3 separate regions of the Homo sapiens genome follow, and regions 1 and 3 are each linked to region 2. The links are contacts of gene promoters, found by promoter capture Hi-C in human tissues and cell types (Jung and others, 2019). All regions are on one chromosome and are shown on one strand. The core of a region is centred on a gene start or on the middle of the fragment in contact, and the rest is flanking DNA. Distances in the headings are between cores, read along the strand shown. Region 1 holds the start of LOC124903854 (a long non-coding RNA gene). Region 2 holds the start of CLCNKB (chloride voltage-gated channel Kb). Region 3 holds the start of AGMAT (agmatinase (putative)).

What was found. The method cuts DNA at HindIII sites, captures the fragments that hold promoters and counts their contacts. A contact is called where the count stands out against the background at its distance.
Region 1: a contact is called between a fragment that was not itself captured here and the fragment with the promoter of CLCNKB in region 2, in 1 of the 25 tissues and cell types used here (spleen).
Region 3: the fragment with the promoter of AGMAT here is called in contact with the fragment with the promoter of CLCNKB in region 2 in 1 of the 25 tissues and cell types used here (spleen).

The regions. Positions count from the first base shown.
Region 1 is chr1:15,599,760-15,604,382 of GRCh38, forward strand. It overlaps LOC124903854 (a long non-coding RNA gene), which reads right to left and starts at 3,784. Exons shown (of 3, transcript XR_007065483.1): 1 at 3,330-3,784. The HindIII fragment of the contact is 5,748 bases long and covers 1-4,623 here.
Region 2 is chr1:16,041,546-16,045,911 of GRCh38, forward strand. It overlaps CLCNKB (chloride voltage-gated channel Kb), which reads left to right and starts at 2,237. Exons shown (of 20, transcript NM_000085.5): 1 at 2,237-2,335; 2 at 2,941-3,047; 3 at 4,013-4,141. The coding sequence starts at 2,948. The HindIII fragment of the contact is 23,589 bases long and covers 1-4,366 here.
Region 3 is chr1:15,581,746-15,586,556 of GRCh38, forward strand. AGMAT (agmatinase (putative)) reads right to left here and starts at 3,306. Exons shown (of 7, transcript NM_024758.5): 1 at 2,951-3,306; 2 at 1,448-1,650. The coding sequence starts at 3,222. RefSeq lists an enhancer at 2,799-2,848 and a silencer at 2,959-3,288. The HindIII fragment of the contact is 10,612 bases long and covers 1-4,811 here.

The DNA of each region.
Region 1 (4,623 bases), core at 1,262-3,761, 440 kb before region 2:
TCAGGCAGTAATGCTCGCTCGCCTGCCACTCACCTCCTGCTATGCGGCCCGGCTCTTAACAGACCACCAACTGGTACTAGTCCGCGGCCTGGAGACTGGGACCCCTGGATTAGAAGGAATAGTGCCTACTCCTATGATCCAGATTGGAAAAACTCGTAATGTGTGGGGCATTGGAAAGAGTACTTATGAAGGTCTTGCCTCAGGGGAATAATTAGCCCTAGAGTTGGCATTGCTCTGGTCCTGCCTAACAAATCTTTTTTTTTTTTTTTTTTTTTTGAGACACAGTCTCACTCTGTTGTCCAGGCTGGAGTGCAGTGGCATGATGTCCGCTCACTGCAACCTCCACCTCCGGGATTCAAGTGATTCTCCTGCCTCAGCCTCCCGAGTAGCTGGGATTACAGGCATGTGCCTCCACGCCCAGCTCATTTTGTAATTTTAGTAGAGATGGGGTTTCTCCATGTTGGTCAGGCTGGTCTTGAACTTCCGACCTCAGGTGATTCGCCTGCCTTGGCCTCCCAAAGTGCTGGGATTACCGGCGTGAGCCACAACGCCCAGCAGTTAAAGACTTTCTAACAACAAAAAGCTTAATACTTTTTTTTTTTCTTTTGAGATGGAGTCTCTCTGTCGCCCAGGCTGGAGTTCAGTGGCGCAATCTCGGCTCACTGCAACATCTGCCGCCCAGGTTCATGCGATTCTCCTGCCTCAGCCTCCCGAGTAGCTAGGATTACAGGTGCCTGCCACTGTGCCCAGCTAATTTTTGTCGTTTTTATTAGAGATGGGGTTTCACCATCTTGGCCAGGCTGTTCTTGAACTCCTGACCTCGTGATCCACCTGCCTTGACCAGCCAAAGTGCTGGGATTACAGGCGTGAGCTACCGTGTCGCTGGATACTTTTTTTTTTTTCGAGATGGAGTTTTGCTCTTGTGGCCCAAGCTGGAGTGCAGTGGTGCCATCTTGGCTCACTGCAAACCCCGCCTCGTGGGTTCAAGCAATTCTCCTGCCTCAGCCTCCCGAGAAGTTGGGATTACAGGCGCCCACCACCATGCCTGGCTAATTTTTGTATTTTTAGTAGAGATGGGGTTTCACCATGTTGGCCAGGCTGGTCTCAAACTGCTGACCTCAGGTGATCCCCCCGCCTCGGCCTCCCAAGTGCTGGGATTACAGGCTCGAGCTACCACACCCAGCCAGCTTGATATTTTTAAGCCCATTATTTCCAATATTGTGAATTCTCAGATTTTCAAGTAATAAAATAAGCAAAATGAATCCTTAATAAAAATTCTATCTTGGCAACGCTATTTGTCATTTCCATCCTATGACTTTCTCTTCATATGTAACTGAAATTTCATAAATATTAAGAAATTGTTGTTTGGGCATAAGAATCAGATATGGAAAGGAGGCAATTGTGCTATTAACCGTGTCACTTAGGGCTACTGCTATTTGAGGCGTGCATCACACCAGCAGAATCATATACACCTGGGAGCTTGTCAGAACTGCAGAAATTCTCAGGACCTGCTCCAGACCTAATGAATCAGAATATACAGTTTAACAAGGTTCCTGGCCGGGCGCGGTGGCTCACGCCTGTAATCCCAGCACTATGGGAGGCCGAGGGGGGTGGATCACGAGGTCAGGAGTTCAAGACCAGCCTGGCCAAGGTGGTGAAACCCCGTCTCTACTAAAAATACAAAAATTAGCCGGGCGTGGTGGTGTGCGCCTGAAATCCCAGCTACTCAGGAGGCTGAGGCAGGAGAATTGCTTGAACCCGGGGGGCAGAGGTTGCAGTGAGCCAAGATCGCACCACTGCACTCCAGCGTGGGTGACAGAGTGAGACTCCGTCTTAAAAAAACAAAAGATTGCTAAGTGGTTACTACACACATTTGAGAAGCACTGGCCCTCTCCATGCAATACATTGAGCAAATACAGTCACATGTCACATGATCTTTAGTCAACAACAGACTGCATATAAGACAGTGGTTCCATCAGATTACAATATTGTATTTTTATTGTACCATTTTTAGTGTACCCTTTCTATGTTTAGATACAAAAATACCAACCATTGTGTTACAATTGCCTACAGTATACAGTACAGTAACATGCTGTAGAGATTTGTAGCGTAGGAGCAGTAGGCTGTATCATATAGCCTAGGTGTGCAGTAGGCTATACTATCTAGGTTTGCGTAAGTACACTCTATGGGCAGGACTCAGTGGCTCATGCCTGTAATTCCAACACTTTAGAAGGTCAAGGCAGGAAGACTGCTTGAGCCCAGAAGTTGGAGACCAGACTGGGCAACAGAGGGAGAAACCCTGTCTATACAAAAAAAATTAAAATTAGCCGGCTGTGGTCTAGACATGGTAGCTCAGGCCTGTAATCCCAGCACTTTGGGGGGCTGAGGCAGGTGGATTGCTTGAGACCAGGAGTTCGAGACCAGCCTGAGAAACATAGCAAGACCCTTTCTCTATAAAAAGAAAATTAAAATATACAAAAATATATAATTTAATTTTAAAAAATTAGTCTGGCATGGTGATGCAGGCCTGCAGTCCCAGCTACTCAGGAGGCTGAGGCAGAAGTATCACAGCAGATCGAGGTTGCAGCGAGCTGTCATGGCACCACTGCACTGCAGCCTGAGCGACACAGCAAGACCCTGTCTCAAAAACAAAACAAACAAACAAAAAAACTCTATGATATTCCAATGATAGATTCACCTAAGATGCATTTCTCATATCTCTGTTAAACAATGCATGACTATAATTTCTCCGGTCATGTTTCCTTATGTCTGAAAACAAAGGGCACTGAAACCTGTTTGTTCACTTTAGTTCACAGGCTGATTAGAAAAGTAAGTAAAATCCAATCCAAATATAAATTAAATACACGTGAAATACCAAACCCTCTAGTAAACAGCGAGCTACATACAAGTCCCAGACACTCCACGACCGTTTCTAGATTGAAAATCCTAGGCCAGGCGCAGTGGCTCACACCTGTAATTCCAGCACTTTGGGAGGCCGAGGTGGGTGGATCACGAGGTCAGGAGTTCAAGACTAGCCTGGCCAAGATGGTGAAACCCCGTCTCTACTAAAAAAAAAAAAAAAAAAAAAAAAAAAAAAAAAAAATTAGCTAGGCGTGGTGGTGGGCGCCTGTAATCCCAGCTACTGGGAGACTGAGGCAGAGAACCCGGGAGGCAGAGGTTGCAGTGAGCCGAGACCGCGCCACTGCACTCCAACCTGGGCGACAGAGCGAGACTCCATTTCAAAAAAAAAAAAAAAAGAATATTTAAGTCTTTTCACTTCTGGGAATACACACACACACACACATATATATTTAATCGAAACACGTTACCTTTCACTCAACAACTATTCAAGACAGAAACCATTTCGGGTAAGCAGACTCCTACAGGGTCCCTACTGCACATTTCTCATCGGTGGTCAAAGCAACAAAACGTGAACTAAGCCACAGGGTAGCTGCAGGAAGCTCTATGCCTGGGACCACTACAGGCAGGCACTAGTTTCCCTGTCCACCACTGCCCGAAATGGAGTCGGGCCCGGTTCTCCTGAGCTGAGCAGGCCAAAGCAGGGAGTCCGTGAGTGGACCGGGCATAGCCAGAGCGACGCCGCAGCACCCCAGCCGCAGGGTCAGCCCCAAAAGCAGCAGGGCCCGCTTGATCGCGGATGCCGGGACGCCCTCGTGCAAGCCTCGAAGGGGGGCTGCCACCCCGAACATTCGCCAGAACGAAAGCGGCAGCCAGGAGAAGCCCTCGCAGGTGCTGTAGGGATCCAAGCGCTTGAGCTGAGTCCGAAACTCGCACAGCAACCTCGGGAGGATAAACTCCAGCAACCAGAATCGGGTTGGCGTCGCCTAGCAACCAGGAGCCAAATGCGCGGACGCCAGGCATTGGCCTGCACGTGTCACGTGAGCCAGCGCCGCTGCCCAGTGGGAGATTACGCCGCAGGCACGTGATGCGGCGCAACCGCCCTTTGGCAGAGCTTTTCGCGAAGGCAGTTGTGGCTCTGAGCGCATAGGCGAGGCATTCCTGGGGTTTGCGCCGTATCCTTTTACAAAGTCCTGGCTTTGGCTGGTGCGACCAAAGAAAGGAAACCGGCGCTTGAGACTTGTCTGGGCTGGCTATGGTGAAGCAGTGAAACGGTGCAGAATTGTGTCAATGAGGCTAGTTCAGTTGTGCAAGAGCATTTCCTCAAAGTAAGACAGAAGCTTTTAGTTACGTCAACACCTGCTAATGTTAGGCTGGCCAGAAATTTCCTGACAAATAATGGGTGAAGGTCGGGCGTGTGGTCGCTCATGCCTGTAATCTCAGCGCTTTGGGATCACTTGAGGTCAGGAGTTCGAGACCAGCTTGGCCAACTAGGCGAAACCCCATCTCTACTGAAAGTACAAAAATTAGCCGTGTGTGGTGGCGCGCATCTGTAATCCCAGCTACTCTGGAGGCTGAGGCAGGACAATCGCTTGAACCCAGGAGGCAGAGGTTGCAGTGAGCTGAGATCACGCCACTTAAAAGAAACGAAACTTTGCTGGTGACCATGTGGTGATGAAACTGAGCGTTTTGGAGCGCAGCAAGGTGACTCCCCATGTAATTAGTATAGACAGAGAGTTTGTGCTCTAAAGGTTAGAAATAAAT
Region 2 (4,366 bases), core at 987-3,486:
TGGGGTTTCTGGAGCCACCCTCAGACTCTGGGAGCCTGGTGTTCCTAAGGAACCCCCAGCACTCCTCACTCTTCAAACTCCCTTCCCCTCTCACTGAAGACAGTGGGACCAGGTAAGGCATGGGAAGGGGCTGTGGGGGTGAGCTGGTAAGGCCTCTGTCTTGGGAAGGGGTGGGAGATGGGGGGTCTGCTAGCTCCCCAGCTGTCCCCACAGTTCCTCTGGGAAGCCAGGAATAACCAGAGCCTCCCTCCCCTCCTAGGCACCTGGCAGTGGGGGTGTAACCATTGGAATAAAAGCAGGGCAGGGGACCCTGCTTCATGTCACCTGCCAGGATGCAAAGTAGTGTGGGGACTCAGTGACCTCTGAATGTGGGTTCTCTGTACCGCCCCGCTCCCACCCATACCTGCCCTGTCTCTTTCAGCGTGCCCTGTCCCCCATCCCGTCCTCAGCTGCTCTGAGGCGAGGGGGCTGTGCAGGTCCTGGGCACCCGACCCCCACTGTCATGAGACAGAGACCCAGGTCTCAGGCTCAGCTCATTTGACAGAGGAGGAAAACAGAGGCTCCGGATGGTGATGGTGTTAGGGTCACAGAGCCGCCCTGGGTTCTCCCCTGCTGTCTCTCTACTGAGCCCCCGCTACTGCTGCCAGGCGACTAATATGGAAGGGGAGAAATTAGGGCTGATGTGGAGGCAGTGGGTTTGGGAGGGACCTGCATTGGGTCCTGCGCCCCCTGGCTGCCCTCTTCTCAGCCTCCTGGGGCACACAGGGCTGGGGGGTGAGGGTGGATGTGGACATGCAGTGCCGGCTGTGGGACAGTAGCCAGCAGCTGCCCCAGACCAGACACTGGGGATCCGGATGTTGACAGGGCAGCCAGTTCTGGTGCTGTGCAGAGTCAACAGGTCAGGGTGGCCAAGATGAAGGTGGGCTCGGGTTCATGCAGAGCGGCAACCCCCATCCCACCTCCCACAACACACACCTTCAATTTTGATTTGACTTGCCTGGCATCTAGGGGCAAAGGGTGGCCCAGGGTCCCAGATTTTAACAATCATCCAAGGGCCATCATGTTATTCAGAGAGTGGCTTTGTCTGGGTAGGACTGGAGGCAATTGCCCCCAACATCTTGCCCCAAAGTGGCATCAGACACAACTCTTCTGTTCTGTGCCCAAACCATTGCCCTGGTTCAGCCTCAGGAGCTGGAGGAGCTTTGGGCAGGGGAAGAGCTGCACAGTGTGGGGCTGGGTTCAGCCTCTGCTGTGTGACCTTGGATGAGTGACTCACCTCTCTGACCATCTACAAAATGGCGAGGCTCTCCCCATTCACAGGGTGTGGGGAGGAGGACTTGAGCTGCGGATGTGACGCTTCTGACACGTTGCAGGCACACGGCACGTGCTTGTTCCTCGCCATGTCCCCTCACACCTGTGCTGCCATCCTCTGTTGGGGTGGGACAAACTCTGTGGAATTACCCAGAAGTCCCCACCAGAGCCGCTGGCCCTTGGACGTGTGCTTTGAGAGGCATTTCCTGAGCCTGGAGGGTCTGGACACAGGATCAAGTCTGAGTTCCTGACCCCAATTCACTGCCTTGCCCCAGGTGTCGGCCTCCTCGCCAGCCCTGGACAAGATGGGTCATCAGGATGGGACCGTGTGGCACAGCCTGCGGGCTTTGGAGCCAGGCAAACCTGGGCTGGGAATCCTGGCGCTGCCTCGGCCTCCGTGATCTTAGACGGGCAGCCCCACCTCCCTGAGACACCATTTCTCTACAACGGGATCACGCTGCCTGCCTCGTGGGATTTCCGTGGGCACTCAGGGTAATTAATCTAGGGGAAGGCTGACTCTCTACCTGGCACACAGGGAGGCTGTGGTCATGCTGGCCCCACTCACCTTTGCCGGCCTGCTTTCTCCTTCTCTGCCCAGCCTCCTCCCCTCTCCCTCTGTGCTTTTCCAAACCTTCCATGTCCAGCTCTGAGACCCCTGGACCCTGAGCCTCAGCCTTGGCAGATGACCCCTCTCTGTCCTGCTGTGTGCGTGAGCTCCCCCTTCCCAGCCCCCGTCCAGCAGCACCCAGGAGCCTGAGTACAGCTGGGCACCACCCTCTGTGCAGCTATGGTGGGTGGGGAGGCTCCTGTTCCCCTCCCTGTTGGCAGCTCTGCTCTGCTCTGCTCCGGCCTGGGCAGTTCTGATCGGTTTTCAAGGACATTCTAAGTGTTCGCCATAAACCCTGGGCCCAGGCGGGAAAGGGGGGAGGATGTTGATTGTTGGAACACACACCTGTCCAGGTGCAGGGGAGCTGGAGGCTCTGTGAGAGGAGGGCCAGCTCAGCCACAGCAGGAGGACTGACAGGTGAGGGGTCGCTGCAAGATGCTGGGGCCTGCCAGGGCCAGACAGGCAGGGCGGGGGGGGGGGGGTGGTAAGGGCAGGAGCCAGCACCTCACTTTGGCCCTGGTGGGATCTTCTTCTGGGCCTGGGGTTTTGCTGCCTCTGTGGCCTGAGCTGGGGTCAGGGGTGCTCATAGGTGGACAGGGAGAGTCAGAGCCATCCATGGGACTCTGCAGTGAGAGTGTCACAGCCCTGGGCAGAGACTGCTCCCAGCAGTGGAAGCGCCAAGTGACCCAGGAGGGTGGGAGCGGCTGCCACCGAAGGGGAAGGGGCTCTGAGCAGGGCTTGGGCTCCGGCCTGTGCCCAGTCTGCTGCTGGACACAGGGGGACACCTAGGAATCCCACCCCCATCCCACACAATGACACACACAGGCACACACCCTCAGTGACGGAAACTCAGGGATGAAGGCACACACAGACCTAGTGTGATAACTTCACATACACACACACACACACACACACGCACAATCTTTCCTCTTCATGGGTGGGGAGAGCACTGGAAGGGCCTAGAGGCAGTGCGAGGACGTGCAGCAGCTCACCGCGGTCCCTCCCTCTATCCGCTTCTCCAGGGGCCTGATGGAGGAGTTTGTGGGGCTGCGTGAAGGCTCCTCAGGGAACCCTGTGACTCTGCAGGAGCTGTGGGGCCCCTGTCCCCGCATCCGCCGAGGCATCCGAGGTGAGAGCCAGGTCCTCTTCCCTTCCCCCTGGAGGACCACTCAGGACATCATTCCTGCCCAGCTCCCACCCCACCTCCCTGCCCAGGAACCACCCTCCTCCTGGCATTTGTCCAGGACATGACTGCCCAAAGTCTCCTGGGTGGCAGGGAGGGAAGGGGTCTGTCTGTCCAGCTGTCTGTGGGTCAGATGGGCCGGGCATCTGCCCTCTGCCTTTCGGGAGATACAGCCCAAGGCCTGGTCACTGTGCCCATCTTCCACCCAGGCCTCTCCCTCACCTACCTGTGCCAATGAGGGGACGTGGGGGTTAGCTGCTGGGACAGCTGGGGCCACAGCAAGGGGCTGGGGCAGCCTACACTTGGCACCTTTCCTTGGAGCCCCATGTGCTTTGTTCACTTTGAGACCTGACTGTCCCCTCAGCTACGGGGCAGAGCAAGTAGGGACCACAGAAGGAGGCTGACTGCAACCCCAGGGGCTGGTGCCCACAGCCAGTGAGGGCCAGCTCCCAGGCTGGGCTAGCAGCCAGTGGGCCAGGAGCATTGCTGGGGACCCAGAGGATACCTGGCGCCACAGGTCCTGGGACACGCAGGAGTCTGCTAGATCCTGGTGCTCTCTAAGCTATGGACTCTGCGGGGATGCAGGTGAAAGCTGTAGCTGCCAGCCCCCTCCATACTCCCTGTCCCCCAGGAACCTCCCAGTACAGGCAGGGATGCGGAGGGTCGGCAGGTCAACGGCTTTCTGGTAGGGGCAGCAGTCCTGGCACCCACTGTGTCACCACTGTCACCTCCCACAAATCCTGCCCGGCCACTTATGTGAGGCAGGGCCCCCTCGGGACTACCCCAGAGTATACCACCAAGCTCCATCCCCCTGCCCCAGCCTCTCTGCCTGAAGCCCAGCAGGCCTCCAAGGATGGGACTGTCTGTGCCTCCTGCCCCACCCTGTGCCGTGACCCCATGCCCTGCCCCAGGTGGCCTGGAGTGGCTGAAGCAGAAGCTCTTCCGCCTGGGCGAGGACTGGTACTTCCTGATGACCCTCGGGGTGCTCATGGCCCTGGTCAGCTGTGCCATGGACTTGGCTGTTGAGAGTGTGGTCCGAGGTAACCCCTCCATGGCAGGTGCTGCTCTGGGCCAAGGGATTCTGAGCTCTCTCTGGGGATGCCAGGTGGATGTCGCCAGGTGCAGCGGAGGTTGGGGGGGGTGCTCTGGGTGGGGATCTGGTCCTGGCTTTACTCCTGACTTGCTCTGTGATCCTGGGCAGGCTCCTGCCCCTCTCTGGGCCTCAGTCATCTCATTTGCACAAGGGAGAGAGGCCTGAATGTTCC
Region 3 (4,811 bases), core at 2,056-4,555, 460 kb before region 2:
GCGCCTGTAATCCCAGCTATTCAGGAGGCTGAGGCAGGAGAATCACTTGGACCCAGGAGGCGGAGGTTGCCGTGAGCCAAGCGGGACAACAAGAGCAAAACTCTGTCTCAAAAAAAAAAAGAATTTAAGTAGCCACATGTGGCTAGTGGCTACCTTACTGGACAGCACAGACCTAGGAAAGTATTCTTTCTGATAATAATAACAGTTAACATTTATTGAAGCTTCAGATATGCCATGCATAGGTCGGGCGCAATGGCTCACGCCTGTAATCCCAACACTTTGGAAGGCCGAGGTGGGCAGATCACCTGAGGTCAGGAGTTCGAGACCAGCCTGACCAATATGATGAAACCCCGTCTCTACTAAAAATATAAAAATTAGCCGGGCATGCTGGCGGGCGCCTATAATCCCAGCTATTCAGGAGGCTGAGACAGAATTGCTTGAACCCGGGAGGCGGAGGTTGCAGTGAGCCGAGATCGTGCCATTGCACTCCAGCCTGGGCAACAAGAGTGAAATTCTGTCTCAAAAAAAAAGAAAAAAAAAAAAGATATGCCATGCTTGATGCTGGGCATTTCATGTGCACTTTCATTATATGCCCCTCACATCATGCAGTGAGTAGGTGTTACTGTGATCATTCCCATCTTACAGGTGAGGGTGTGAAGCATCAAGCACGGTATACAGCAACATTGCTAGGGAGAAGTGCAGCTGAGACTTCAAACCATGCCATCGGGAAACCACACTCCTCCCACTATGCCATGCAGGCTAGGCTCTCTAACTTGGCAAAAATGAATTTGGATATTTAGGAAAAGATCCCTGTCATTTTAAGTATTTGTGAACAAGAGAAAAAGTGAGAGTGGGTCAGGGGTGAGGATAAGGGGAAAGCTGCCCTATAGGTTGATGTAGACCCTGAGCAGGACAAAAACACCCTCTTTGCAGTTCTCCTCGCAAATAAAGTCATTAGAAACATCATCTTGGCCAGGCGCGGTGGCTCATGCCTGTAACCCCAGCACTTTGGGAGGCCAAGGTGGGCGGATCACTTGAGGTCAGGAGTTCAAGACCAGCCTGGCCAACATGGCAAAACCCCGACTCTACCAAAAATACAAAAATTAGCCAGGCATGGTGGTGGGCGCCTGTAATCCCAGCTACTTGGGAGGCTGAGGCAGGAGAATTGCTTGAACCCAGGAAGTGGAGGTTGCAATGTGCCGAGATTGCACCACTGCACTCCAGTCTGGGTAACAGAGTGAGACTGTCTCACACACACACATACACACACACGTGAAATATTCTCTCCCCAGGGATTAAAATAAATGAATTACAATGCTCTCTTTCCTACTGTCTGCACATTTGCAGTGGCTTGCAGGGGAGAAGTAGCTGTACTCAAGCCCCTGAGTACAGGATAAGTAAACCCTGAGTGCAGGGAACTACTCTGGCTCTTGCAGACTGACATTACCCAAGGTCAGAGGAATACAGCCAGCTGCTACAATTTTCTCATAGGCCTCTTGAATTCGCCGGCAGCTGTCCTGAAGGTTGTAAAGATTGACATTCACATCGCCTAGGTCTGCAACCATGAGGGACTGGAAGGGGAGGGCCCCCGTGCTAGGATTGACTGTCCCAAGCATCACTGATTCTTCCCGGATGCGGCGAGGTCCGAATCTGCAGAAGGAAGAATCATCCTGTCAGCCATCATCTGCAGAGATTTCAGGCTTTGCTTAGGCCAGGGCTTCTCAGCCTCAGCAATTTGGGGCCAGATGATTCCGTGTCGCGGCATTGCATAATGGAATGCTTAGCAGCATCCCGGCCTGTACTCACTAGGTGCCAGTAGCACCCTTCCTCCAAGGTGTAACAACCCAAAACGCCTCCAGATACTGCCAAATGTCCCCGGAGTGCAAAACCGCCCCACTTGAGAATCACCGATCTAGGCTATGTATCGAAGAGACTAAATAAGTGTACTAAATGGCATTAGTGAATTTCATGATCTACCTGAGTCTCAGTTTCCTAATTTGTAAAATATTTACCTTGCACTGTAGTAAAAATTAAATGAGGTAATCTATGCAAAGCACCTTGCACTTAGGAGACATTTAATAAGTGCTGGCTTTCATAATTCAGATCAGTACGGTCAGATATAGTGTTGCTGAGCTGAATCAGAAATTGCTGACGTTCAATAACTAGGAAGATGAATTTTGCTTCCTCCGACTTGATCCTAGGAAAATTGCCTTCATTTGAGCATTTCTTGAGTCAGGTGACATCTTCAGATTTGGGGAAGGGGCAGCCAGTTTCTGCTCTCAAATGCAATGTCACCTGCCACTGTAAGCTGGGGAGAGGAGAGGGGAGGAATCCACAGCAGCCATCCCAGCAAGGCCCCAGGATGGGGACACAGAGAAGGTTCAGGCTCCAGAATCCCTTCTTTTTTCTTTTTTTGAGACGGAGTCTCACTCTGTTGCCCAGGCTGGAGCGCAGTGGCGCAATCTCAGCTCACTGCAACCTCCGTCTCCCGGGTTCAAGCGATTCTCCTGCCTCAGCCTCCCGAGTAGCTGGGATTACAGGCCCGCGCCACCATGCCCGGCTTTTTTTTTCTTTTTTTTGTACCTTTGTAGAGACAGAGTTTCACCATGTTGGTCAGGATGGTCTCGAACTCCTGACCTCGTGATCCGCCCGCCTCAGCCTCCCAAAGTGCTGGGATTACAGGCATGAGCCACCGGGCCGGCCAAAATCCCTTCTTGACCAATGATGACACTAAGATGTGGGAGGCCACGCCCATGTTGAGCCCTGGGGTTTGCTTATTGAGGGTCCAGGTAAATCAACCATCTCAAACCATAAGGGGCATTTTGGAGCCGGCCACCAGCTTCCAACTCGACCCGGGGCCAGCAGGGGCGCCTGTCTCGGTGCTTTCCATGCCCGACAGCCAGCAAGCAGTCCCTCCACGTGTACCCGGCCCCCGTCCTTCCGGCCTTACCTCGCCCCAGGCCGGTTGGAGGTCCCAGTATCCAGGGGCACCCCGATGAAGGCAGCGTCCAGCCCCTCGGGGGAGGTCTGCACCGGCAGGCGCATCATGGAGCAGACGCCCACCGGCCGGGCCACGAACTCGGGGCTGGGGGGCTGGTTCCGGGGCGCGTCGGAAGCCTGGCGGCTCTGGCGGCGCCCCGGATGAAAGAGCCCTGCGGCAGGACGCGCGCCCACGCCGGGCCCCGGGCCCCGGGCGCACCCGGACGCCAGCAGCCTCAGCATTGCCGCGCGCGGCCAAGACCTCACCGACCAAACCGCCCGCGAGGCCGCCGCGATCTGGCTGGTCCCGAACGGCGAGGCGAGTGTGCACGCGCCAGAGCCGGAACCCGAGCCGGCTCAAAGGTCAGGGGCGCCCTAGGATCAAGGCGGGGGAGGGGCCCCAGGACCTGCCGTGCTCTCCCCTCAACCCCTCTGGACTTCAGCCTCTGGCAAATAGAGTCAGGCTGGGGGTGCCCACTGGCCGGCACTGTGCCAGGGGTGTCTGCGCCCTGCTCCCCACTGTGGCCTTCAGCAGCCTCTTCTCCCATTCAGAGTAATTGTTTGTTTTTATAGAGACGGTCTCACTGTGTTGCCCAGACTGGTCTCCAACTTCTGGACTCAAGTGATTCTCCCACCTTGGCCTCCCAAAGTGCTGGGATTACAGGTGTGAGCCACAGCAGCCACCCCAGAGTAATATTTTTAAAGCCAGAAAGATATGAAGGAAAATGATCTTTCTCTAAGCCAGAAAAATAGGAAATGCATTTTTTTAAATAATGTATTTTTAAATGTCCAGGGATAGGAATCTCAAGAAGCAGTAAAGTTAGTTAGCTACTTAGCTAGCTAGCTAGTTATTTTGAGACAGGGTCTTGCTGTGTTGCTCAGGCTGGAGTGCAGTGGCACAATCATAGCTCACTGCAGCCTCAAACTGCTGGGCTCAAGCAATCGTCTCACCTCAGCCTCCCGAGTAGTTGGGACTACAAGCGTGAGCCATCGCGCCTGGCCAGTAAAGTCTTTTTAAATAACCTTGTTAAAAAAGGACTAGAGGCCAGGGGCGGTGGCTCACGCCTGTAATCCCAGCACTTTGGGAGGCTGAGGCGGGCGGATCACGAGGTCAGGAGATCGAGACCATCCTGGCTAACACGGTGAAACCCCATCTCTACTAAAAGTACAAAAATTTAGCCGGGCATGGTGGCAGGTGCCTGTAGTCCCAGCTACTTGGGAGGCTGAGGCAGGAGAATGGCATGAACCCGGGAGGCGGAGCTTGCAGTGAGCTGAGATCAGGCCACTGCACTCCAGCCTGGGCAACAGAGCAAGACTCCGTCTCAAAAATAAATAAATAAATAAATAAATAAATAAATAAATAAATAAAGGACTTACAGGCAAGCTGTAAGGAAGGTCACAGTGCCAGAGAACCTGTTACATCCTCTTTATTTCTAAGGGGAAAGAAAAACACACGTGGAAAGAAAGAAGTGATTTGTAATGGAATTATGTGAGCCATTTAGCAGTATTATATATATTATTTTTTCTGATCTCTAAATGTTGAGATTGAATGGAAAAGGCTCACATTTGCATTTACGTTGCAACCTCTACACAAAGGTTGCACATTAGGCCAGGCGCGGTGGCTCACACCTGTAATCCCAGCACTTTGGGAGGCCGAGGTGGGCGGATCATGAGGTCAGGAGATGAGACCATCTTGGCTAACATGGTGAAACCCCATCTCTACTAAAAATACAAAAAATTAGCCAGGCGTGGTGGTGGGCACCTGTAGTACCAGCTACTCGGGAGCCTGAGGCGGGAGAATGACGTGAACCCGGGAGGGTGGAGTTTGCAGT